2 separate regions of the Homo sapiens genome follow, and region 1 is linked to region 2. The links are contacts of gene promoters, found by promoter capture Hi-C in blood cells and fetal thymus (Javierre and others, 2016). All regions are on one chromosome and are shown on one strand. Each heading gives the region's core, a stretch centred on a gene start or on the middle of the fragment in contact. The rest is flanking DNA. Distances are from core to core; before and after follow the strand shown.

Evidence for each region. Contacts are between HindIII fragments. The CHiCAGO score rates a contact against its expected background, and 5 or more counts as called.
Region 1: a fragment that was not itself captured here is called in contact with the fragment with the promoter of PTPRS in region 2 in 3 of 17 cell types (M1 macrophages, M0 macrophages and total CD8 T cells); the score reaches 8.8 in M1 macrophages.

What each region holds. Positions count from the first base shown.
Region 1 is chr19:5,502,342-5,506,926 of GRCh38, forward strand. No RefSeq gene overlaps it. Among named protein-coding and RNA genes, the nearest start is that of ZNRF4, 49 kb to the left of the region's middle. The HindIII fragment of the contact is 217 bases long and covers 1,322-1,538 here.
Region 2 is chr19:5,338,168-5,342,890 of GRCh38, forward strand. It overlaps PTPRS (protein tyrosine phosphatase receptor type S), which reads right to left and starts at 2,645. Exons shown (of 38, transcript NM_002850.4): 1 at 2,497-2,645. RefSeq lists an enhancer at 33-706 and a silencer at 2,573-2,852. The HindIII fragment of the contact is 5,182 bases long and covers 1-4,723 here.

The DNA.
Region 1 (4,585 bases), core at 180-2,679, 160 kb after region 2:
TCCCAAATTCCTGTCCCATAAAACCATGAGAGGTAATAAATTATTATTTTAAGCCACTAATTTTTCAGGTAATTTATACAACCACAGTAACTGGAACAAGCTCCTAAATCTTAGTGGCTCTAAAACAACCAAGGTTTATTTGTCATCCACACTATATGCCCAATACAGGTTGGCAGGGGGCCTCTGTGTCTGCCTCACTCAGGCATTGAGACAGATGGAGGAAACATCAGTGGTCTCTAAGAGAGGGGAAAGAATATGAAGAATGGGATACTGGATTTTAAAGGCTTTTACTGAAGGGGATTAACATGACTTCTACTCACATTTTATTGGCCAAAGCAAGTCATGAAGCCACACCTCACTTCAAACGGCAGCTATTGGTGGGGTGCAGTGATTTACACCTTTAATCCCAGCACTTTGGGAGGCTGGGACAGGAGGATCACTGGAAGCCAGGGGTTTGAAACCATCCTGGGCAACATAGGGAGACTCCATCTTTACAAAAATAATTTTTAAAAATAGCTGGGCATGATGCATACCTGTAGTTCTAGATACTTGGGAAGCTGAGGTGGGAGGATCACCTGAACCCAGGAGGTTGAGGCTGCAGTGAGCCATAATCACACCACTACACCCCAGCCTGGGCAACAGAGTGAGACCCTGTCTCAAATTAATACAAAAAAAAAAAAAAAAAAAAAGACAGGTGTATGATTTTGCTGGGGCTACCAAAACAAAATACCACGAAGTGAGTGGCTCAAACAACAGAAATGTATTTCCTCATAGTTTTGGGGTTTTTGTTGTTTGTTTGAGATGAAGTCGTGCTCTGTTGCCCAGGCTGGAGTGCAGTGGCACAATCTCGGCTCACTGCAACCTCCACCTCCCGGGTTCAAGCGATTCTCCTGACTCAGCCTCCTGAGTAGCTGGGAATACAGGTGCCCACCACCACGCCCAGCTAATTTTTTGTTTTTGTATTTTTAGTAGAGATGGAGTTTCACCATACTGGCCAGGCTGGTCTTGAACTCCTGACCTCGTGATTCACCCACTCGGCTTCCCAAAGTGCTGGGATTACAGGCGTGAGCCACCATGCTTGGCCTATTTCCTCATAGTTCTATAGGCCAGAAATTCAAGACCTACATGTAAGCAGGGCCATGCTCCCTCCAAAGGCTCTAGGGAAGGATCCATTCCGTGTTTTTCTGCTGGCTTCTGCTAGTTCCTTGGCTTGAGGTGGCATAACTTTAATCTTCACATGGCGTCCTCCATGTGAATCTTAGAATTTCTGCCTTCAACTTCTCTTCCCTTCTGCCTATTACATAGCATTTCCCCAGCTCCAAGCTTCCCCATATCCCTCCAAAGTCCAGAAAATCAAATAAGTTATTCTTTATCTCAGGAACTTCCAAATTTCACCTTTTCCCTCCTCTTGTCTGTTATTTGCCATGTCTAATAGAGCAAGGTTGCAATGTCACCTTTCACCAGAAGAGGCTGCTCACACACACACACCGTCTATCTTCCAGCTAAACACCATCCCTGCCTTGGTTTGTAGTAGATGAAGCTTGAAATTGCTTATGATCACTAGGAAGTCAGGGACACCTCAGCATAGAAACTCCCACAGTCATGGGCTTAACAAGGCTGGGCCCATAACAGTTGTTGGTTGTAAACCTGGGAGGCAGGTGGTATTGACCCCATTTTATAAATGGGAAGTCTGAGAAGCCCAGCGTTGCAGACCCACAGTCTTTTGGCTTCCATATGTGACCTGGCCCTATATTCTTTACTCATCTTTTATCACCTACCTGATATCTAATCCCTCAAATCCTGTCCTGTCTGCCTTCAAAACCTATCCAGAATCTGGCCACTCCTCTCTCTTCCTCTGCCTTCACCCTGGTCTGACATCTCATCGTCACTTGCCTGGAACCACACAGTCCCCTCTTCCCTGGTGCCCAGCTCCCGACTTCACCCCCCACAGTCTATCCTCCTCTCAGCAGCCACCAGGGGCACCTGTGAGCACCTGAGTCAGATCCTGTCCCTCCTCTGCCCATAGCCCTCCAAGAAGCATTCCCAGAGGAGATAATACATGGTCTAAGAATTCAATTCCACCAAATTAGCTGGAAAAGAAAGGCAGAGATTTGCTCCTGCACACCAGCCTCTCCCCACCTTCAGGACTTTACCCACACAGCCTCCTCCTTTGTCCAGAGAACCCTTCCCTTCCTCCTCACCTGGCCTACTTTGCCCAGTAAATTGGGGCAGAGCTGGGTGGGTATTCTGCATGCCCTTTCCAGGCAAAGTTGTTCCAGTTCCTCATGTCCTGCAGGGTGAGACATTGAGCTCCTTTCTCTTTGCTTGCTCATCCCAGAATCTCAGTTTTCTCATCTGATAAATGAAAATCAAAGAGACAATCTCTTGGGTCTGGCTCAAAGAGTATTCTGAATGCAAGTTAGTATAACCATCATTATTATTTATGACCAGAAGCTCCATAGTAACATTTGTCAAGACTCTTTTAAGCCACCGGCCTCAGTTCCAATCCCACTTCCTCAGAGAAGCTCCCTTGATATGGACTAAATGTTTGTGTCCCCCCCATCCAAATTCATAAATTAAAACCCTAACACCCCTCCCCAACTATGGGATGGTAATTGAAGGAAGGCTCATGATGGGATTAGTGCCCTTACAAGAAGAGACACCAGAGAGTTTGCTCTGTTTCTGCCATATGAGAACACAGCAAGAAGGTGGCCATCTGCAAGTCAGGAAGAGAGCCCTCACCAGGAGCTAAATTGGCTGGCGCTTTGCTCTGGGACTTCCCTGCCTCCAGAACTGTGAGAAAATGATCTTTTGTTTAAGCCACGCAGCCTGTGGTACAGACAGTCCCTGATTTACAGTAGTTCAACATAATTTTTTTATTTTTTGAGGGTGACAAAAGCAATATACATTTAGTATGCTACTCTAAGTCAAGTAGCAGTGAGGTGGAGGCTGGGCATGGTGGCTCACGCCTATAATCCCAGCACTTTGGGAGGCCAAGGCGGGCAGATCATGAGGTCAGGAGTTCGAGACCAGCCTGGCCAACATGGTGAAACCCCGTCTCTACTAAAAATACAAAAATTAGCCAGGCATGGTGGCACGCACCTGTAATCTCAGCTGCTCCGGAGGCTGAGGCAGGAGAATTGCTTGAACCCAGGAGGTGGAGGTTGTAGTGAGTTGAGATCGTGCCATTGTACTCCCGCCTGGGTGACAAGAGCAAGACTCTGTCTCAAAAAAAAAAAAAGACAATGAAGTGGCTTCCAGGTAAACCCATTATAAGCTGAAAATATTGTAAATCTAAAACGTATTTTGACTTATGATATTTTCAACTTTTGATGGGTTTATTGGGTAATGACCCCATTGTAAGTTAAGGAGCATCTTTGTTTAGTGATGGCAGCTGGAGCAGACTTCACTATCCTCACAGCCCCACCCCAACCAATCCCCGTTTTATCCCCTTCATTAACTTCTTTTTTTTTTTTTTTTTTTTTTTGAGACACAGAGTCTCTGTCACTCAGGCTGGAGTGCAGTGACGCAATCTTGGCTCACTGCAACCTCCACCTTCCTGGTTCAGGTGATTCTCGTGCCTCAGCCTCCCAAGCATCTGGGACTACAGATGCATGCCACCACGCCCAGCTAAGTTTTGTATTTTTAATAGAGACGGGGTTTCACCATGTTGGCCACGCTGGTCTCAAACTCCTGACCTCAAGTGATCCACCCACCTCGGCCTCCCAAAGTGCTGGGATTACAGGTGTGAGCCACTGCACCCGGCCTCCTTCACTGACTTCTGAATCCACCTTTGGTTTACCTACCTGCTCAACTCTCTACCTTGACTAGAAGTTAAACCACATGAGGGCAGGTGTTTTGTCCATCTTATTGGTGGCTGGATCCCCAATACCTAGAATGGTGCTTGATATACAGTAAGTGCTCAATATCTACTGGATGAATAGGCCCAGGACTCGCACCAGAGTCTCTGCACTGTCACAGAGGGCCTTGTCCCCCTGGACTTTGGAATAAACAGGACACAGGGTTCAGAAGCGAAGATGGGGGAAGAGATCAGGGTTCTCCAAACTGCCTTTCATGAATTGCCCTAAGGCAGAGTTTCCTATCTTTGCCACTGTGGGCATTTGAGGCTGAATCATTCTCTGGGCTGCGACCATCCTGGGCACTGCAGGGTGCTGAGCAGCACCCCTGGCCTTCACCCACTCCATGCCAGGAGCACCCCCCAAGTCATGACAACCAAAAATGTCCGCAGACATTGCCAGATGCCCCCAGAGCATGCAAAATCATCCCTGGTCAAGGCCACTGCCCTAAAGAAATGACTTCTTGGCTGGACACAGTGGCTCACACTTGTAATACCAGCACTTTGGGAGGCTGACGTAGGAGGATCACTTGAGGTTAGGAGTTGGAGACCACCCTGGCCTCCAACTCTATATGGCAACATAGCAAGAAGCCATCTCTATAAAAGAAAGAAAGAAAGAAATGGCTCGGGCCAGGCATGGTGGCTCATGCCTGTAATCCCAGCACTTTGGGAGGCCGAGGCAAGTGGATCACCTGAGGTCAGGAGTTCGAGACCAGCCTGGCCAATATG
Region 2 (4,723 bases), core at 1,395-3,894:
AGTACCAGTCTCTGTCACCCCCTGGGGGGTTAGGGGCAATGTCATCGGCCAGGGTGGCAGAAATAGAAAAGTGCGTGAGCTCACCAGGCAGCCTGGGTCTCCTGCGACGTTTTGTTTGCCTGAGCCCAATTAGAACAACTCTCAGGATGATGGAGTATGGCGGGCGGTGGCCCCCAGGGGGCTGGGAGGCCTAGCCCCCATGCAGAAGTGCACCGTCATGATGAGGGTGTCCCCCGGGCCTGGGGAACAGGGCAGGACCCTGCTTCCCGGAGGGAAATAATGAAGACTCCGCCAGCCTGCCAGCCAGAAAGAGATGCCCCACGGAAGGCTTTGTGGAGGGCAGCGGGGGGGTAGGGGAGGGATGCCCAGGTGGGGACTCAGTCAGGCCCAAGCTGGGGGGCTGTGGGATTTGAGGGCGGGAAGCAGCCGCCCCCAGCCCCAGCTGCCTGCCTTCCACCGCCAAAATATCAGCTGGCAAAGAAAGAAGAGCAGAGGGACAGAAGGCAGGCGCGATTGGCAGGGGGAGGGGGGCACAAAGGAAGGGACCCTGGGAGGGGGAGGGGACTTATGCAAATGGCAGATTCGACCAAGTCCCTGGGCCATTAATAAACGCTCCAGCAGCTGCCGCTGGTATCGCAGGAGCAGAGGAGCGGGATGGCTTCCTTCTCCCGGGCGAAAGGCGGCAGAAAGAGGGAAGAAGGGCGCCCCAGACAAAGAGGCGCCGTCACCCTCTGCACCCCAAGGACAGCAGCGATAGGGGGCCACCCAGAGGAGGCCAGAATCCCAGCAGCCAAAGTCCGGGTGGTGGCGGACGGGAGCCCGGAGCGTGTGGGTCCCTGTCCTTGGGACCCTAGGGGTCTCTTCCTGCCTCCTCCGGCTTCTAGGTATCATCCCTGCTGCTCAGCCGGGACTCCGACACCTCGGACACCCGCTTCACTAGCCGCGGCTGCCGGGATGTGTTTTTAGGGTCTCGGCCAGAGGCAGGAGGACCCCATGCTCAGAAGGGGGCTCCCCTAGATTGTGACGGGGGGGGACAGGGGAATCCCAGCTGAGCCCAGAAGGGGGAGGCAAGGCACCCCCAATGAGGCTCTGGGAGGTTTGTTAATTTGGGGGAATGAGGTCCCAGGAGGTGGCTGGATTTGAGGAAGGGTTGCAGAGGAAGGGGCGTTCTTGGAAGCTGCATATTTAGGGAGACGAGAAGACGATTTGAGACTGGGGAAAGAGGGTCAACCGAAGAAGGAGGTCCCAGATTTGGGGCGGGGGGTGTGGCTGAAAAAAAGATTCCCAGTTTGTGGGAAAGGTTCCCTGATTTGAGGATTCTGGAGAGAAAGCGGCCGAAGGGGAGTTCCCCAATTTGGGAAGGGGGGGAATTGGTGGGAAATGTCCAGGATTTGTAGGGGGAGGTCCGAAGGGGAGGATCTTAATTTTAGGAGAGATTCCCATAAAGAGAGGTGAACTTGGCCGCAACCTGGCCGAACCCTCGCACCCACGGCGCGGGCACTCTAACCTGGGGGGCTCCCCTCAGGGCACGCCCCGCGCCCCCTTTAACCCAGTGCCGACGGCCCCGCCCCCGGTATGACGTCACCTCCCCTCCCCCCGCAGCCCCCGGGGGCTCCCGGGGCGTGCGGAACCCGCGGGGCTGGCGGTTCCAGGGGCGGCTTCCCCACTCTCGGGATCCCCACGGGGCCCCCAGCGCGGAGGGGAGACTGGGGTGCTGGGCGTGCGCGTCTGCCTGCCAGAGCCCCTGGGGCTGGGGGCTGAGGCTCGCCCCTGGGTGGGGAGGCTGGAAGGGGGCGCCGAGGCCGCAGAAGGGTGGGGCAATGCCCGAGTGCCGGAGGGGCGACCTCCCATAAGGCAACGACAGGGCCCGGAGTGTTCCAGGGGAGACGGCGTAGACTAGGGGGTCTCCAGGGGAGGGAGACCCGGAGAGGGAAGGCGGCGGGCGCAGCAGCCCTGGAGCCACCCCGCCTGGAGCCACCCGTCCCGGCTCCTCTCCGCTCCGGGGCGCCCGCATGCCCCCCATCCCCCGGCACAGCGCCCCCTGCCTCCAGGACCCGCCCGGGGACCCGGGCCGGGCGCCGCCGGGGCCGGCACCGGCTCCGCACACACGCGCGCCCCCCTCCGCGCCTCTGCCCCGCCCGCAGCCCGGGGTGGTGCAGCCGGCGGCGCTGGGCAGCTTCCAATGCCGCGCTCTGGGCGCTTCCAGCCCAGCCCCCTCCCACGCCGCGGACGAAGCCCCCCCAGCACCCCCTGCCGAGCGCCCCCAGCGCGGCCCCGGCCCTGTCCCTCGGGGCATTGTCCGGGCGCAGCTACCGGGGCGCAGCGGCTGGGCGTGCAACTGGCTGCAGCCGAGCATCCTCCGAGCACAATGGCCGTGCAGGCTTCCCCGGCACAAAGCCGGCGCGCTGCCCACTCGGCTGCCTCCGAGACCCCCCTTGGAGCGCCTGCATTTTTTTTTCCTCTAATCCATGATTTTATTTTTTTTTTTGGCTTTACCTGGAGGCTGGCTGGGCTGGGCTCCCCCGGCTCTGCCCCGCTTCACATCGTGGCTGTTGCATGGGATCCGAGCGGAGCCCGAGCGCCAGCGGCTCGCGGCGTGCGCGCGCCGGCCGGGCTGCCGGGCGGGCGGCGCGAGGACACTCACTGCGGCTCGCGCTCCCCTAGCTCCCGCTCGCGCGCCCCCCCAGCCGGTGACGTCATCCCTTCCGCCAGCGCCGCCGCCGCCGCCGCCGGGTCGGGGGCAGGGCCGGCCCGTGCGCGTCACTGCGCAGCCGCGCGGCCGCCACGCCCCCCGGCCAATGGGACGGCGCAGCGCGGTCACGTGGCTCCGGGGTGTTTAAAGGGCCGCGGGAGCACGTGGGGCGCGGGGCTTCGCGGGACACGTGGGCGGCTGGGGTGGTGGTGGTGGTGGCGGCTGCGGCGGCGGCGGGAAGGGCCCCTGGGGCTACTGTCCGTGCGGGAGCCCCAGCGTCCTGGGTGCAAAGGGCATGGCACTTTCTGTGCGCTGCCCTAAACTGTGCCACGGCTCCCCAGTACCCTTGGAATAAAATCCCGCCTCCTCTCTGCAGCTCGCCGTTTCACATTAGCGCCCACTACCCTGTCCCCTCCCCCCCACCATGTCAATGATCCAGAAAAACCAGCTGCTCCTTCTTTGCTTTTTCAGAGATGGGGTCTGCCACCTGGGCCTCAGTACAGTGGTATGATCATAGCTCACTGCAGCTTCAAACTCCTGGGCTCAGGTGATCCTCCCGCCTCAGCCTCCTGAGTAGTTGGGCTCGGGTGATCCTCCCGCCTCAGCCAGCTTCTTACAGTTCCTCTAACTTGAGCATCCAAGAACTTCCCCTTCTCATCTTTCCAATTTCTGCTCAAATAAGCAGCGCCTGGGAGAAGCCCTCCCTGACAACAGCTACCAGCCACGCCCCACTCCACTCTATCCCATTATCCCGGTTTGTTGTTGTTGTTGTTGTTTGTTTGGTTTTGAGTCGGAGTCTCACTCTGTCGCCCAGGCTGGAATGCAGTGGCGTGATCGCGGCTCACTGTAACCTCCGCCTCCTGGATTCAAGCTATTCTCCTGTCTCAGCCTCCGGAGTAGCTGGAATTACAGGCGTGCTGTCACCACGCCTGGCTAATTTTTGTATTTTTGTTAGAGACAGTGTTTCACCATGTTGGCCAGGCTGGTCTTGAACTCCTGACCTCAGTGATCCGTCCACCTCGGCCTCCCAAAGTGCTGGGATTACAGGCGTGAGCCACCGCGCCTGGTCCCATTATCCCGTTTTTATTCTAGTTACACTACAGTGTGGCTCCAGAGATCCCTATTGTAGGTTGAACACATGAATGAATGGATGATGGAGCACTTCTTATAGAGTAAGCACTTTACACAGGTCTCACCTAATTACCATCCCCTGCTTCCCTGGAGTCAGGACGAGCCACAGTTGGAACCCAGCTAAAACACTGATTTGCTGTGTGAGGCCCGGAGCCTCACTTTCCCCATCTGTAGAATGGATTTGCCTCTGGATCTCAGCTCTCATCTGTAAAATGGGGCAAGGTAGCCCCTGCTCCTAAGGAGGGTGTGATGATGAATTGCTATAATGTGGCAGCCTGGCTGCCATTGGTGCCTGAAGATGGAATAATAAGAGAAAAGAGGCCGGGCCCGGTGACTCATGCCTGTAATCCCAGCACTTTGGGAAGCCAAGGTGGGCAGATCACTTGTCAGGAGTTCGAGACCAGGCTGGCCGACATGGCGAAACCCCATCTCTACTAAAAATACAAAAATTAGCCGAGCGTGGTGGCAGGTGCCTGTAGTCTCAGCTAGTTGGGAGGCTGAGGCAGGAGAAACTCTTGAACCCGGGAGGCGGAGGTTGCAGTGAACCAATATCACACCACTGCACACTCTAGCCTGGGCGACAGAGTGAGACTCTCAAAAATAAGGAAAAAAAACAGAGCGGAAGTAAATAAAAGGGGGATATTGACAAAGGTAAGGGGGTTGGAGGGCTCACAGCCACCAAGCAAGATTGCACATCAGTCCTTGTGTTTTGATCATGTCGAAAGCATTTATTTCCTCAAGGCACATATTTGGAGAAGGCCTGGTGCCCAACAGAGGAACTCAACTTTAGAATTGGTTTTTTTTTTCCTCCAAAATTGTTGATTCATTCATTCCAGGCCACAGATGCAGATAAACAAAAAGCATTAACCCGGGGAACAAAACGATAAGGCGGAAGTCATA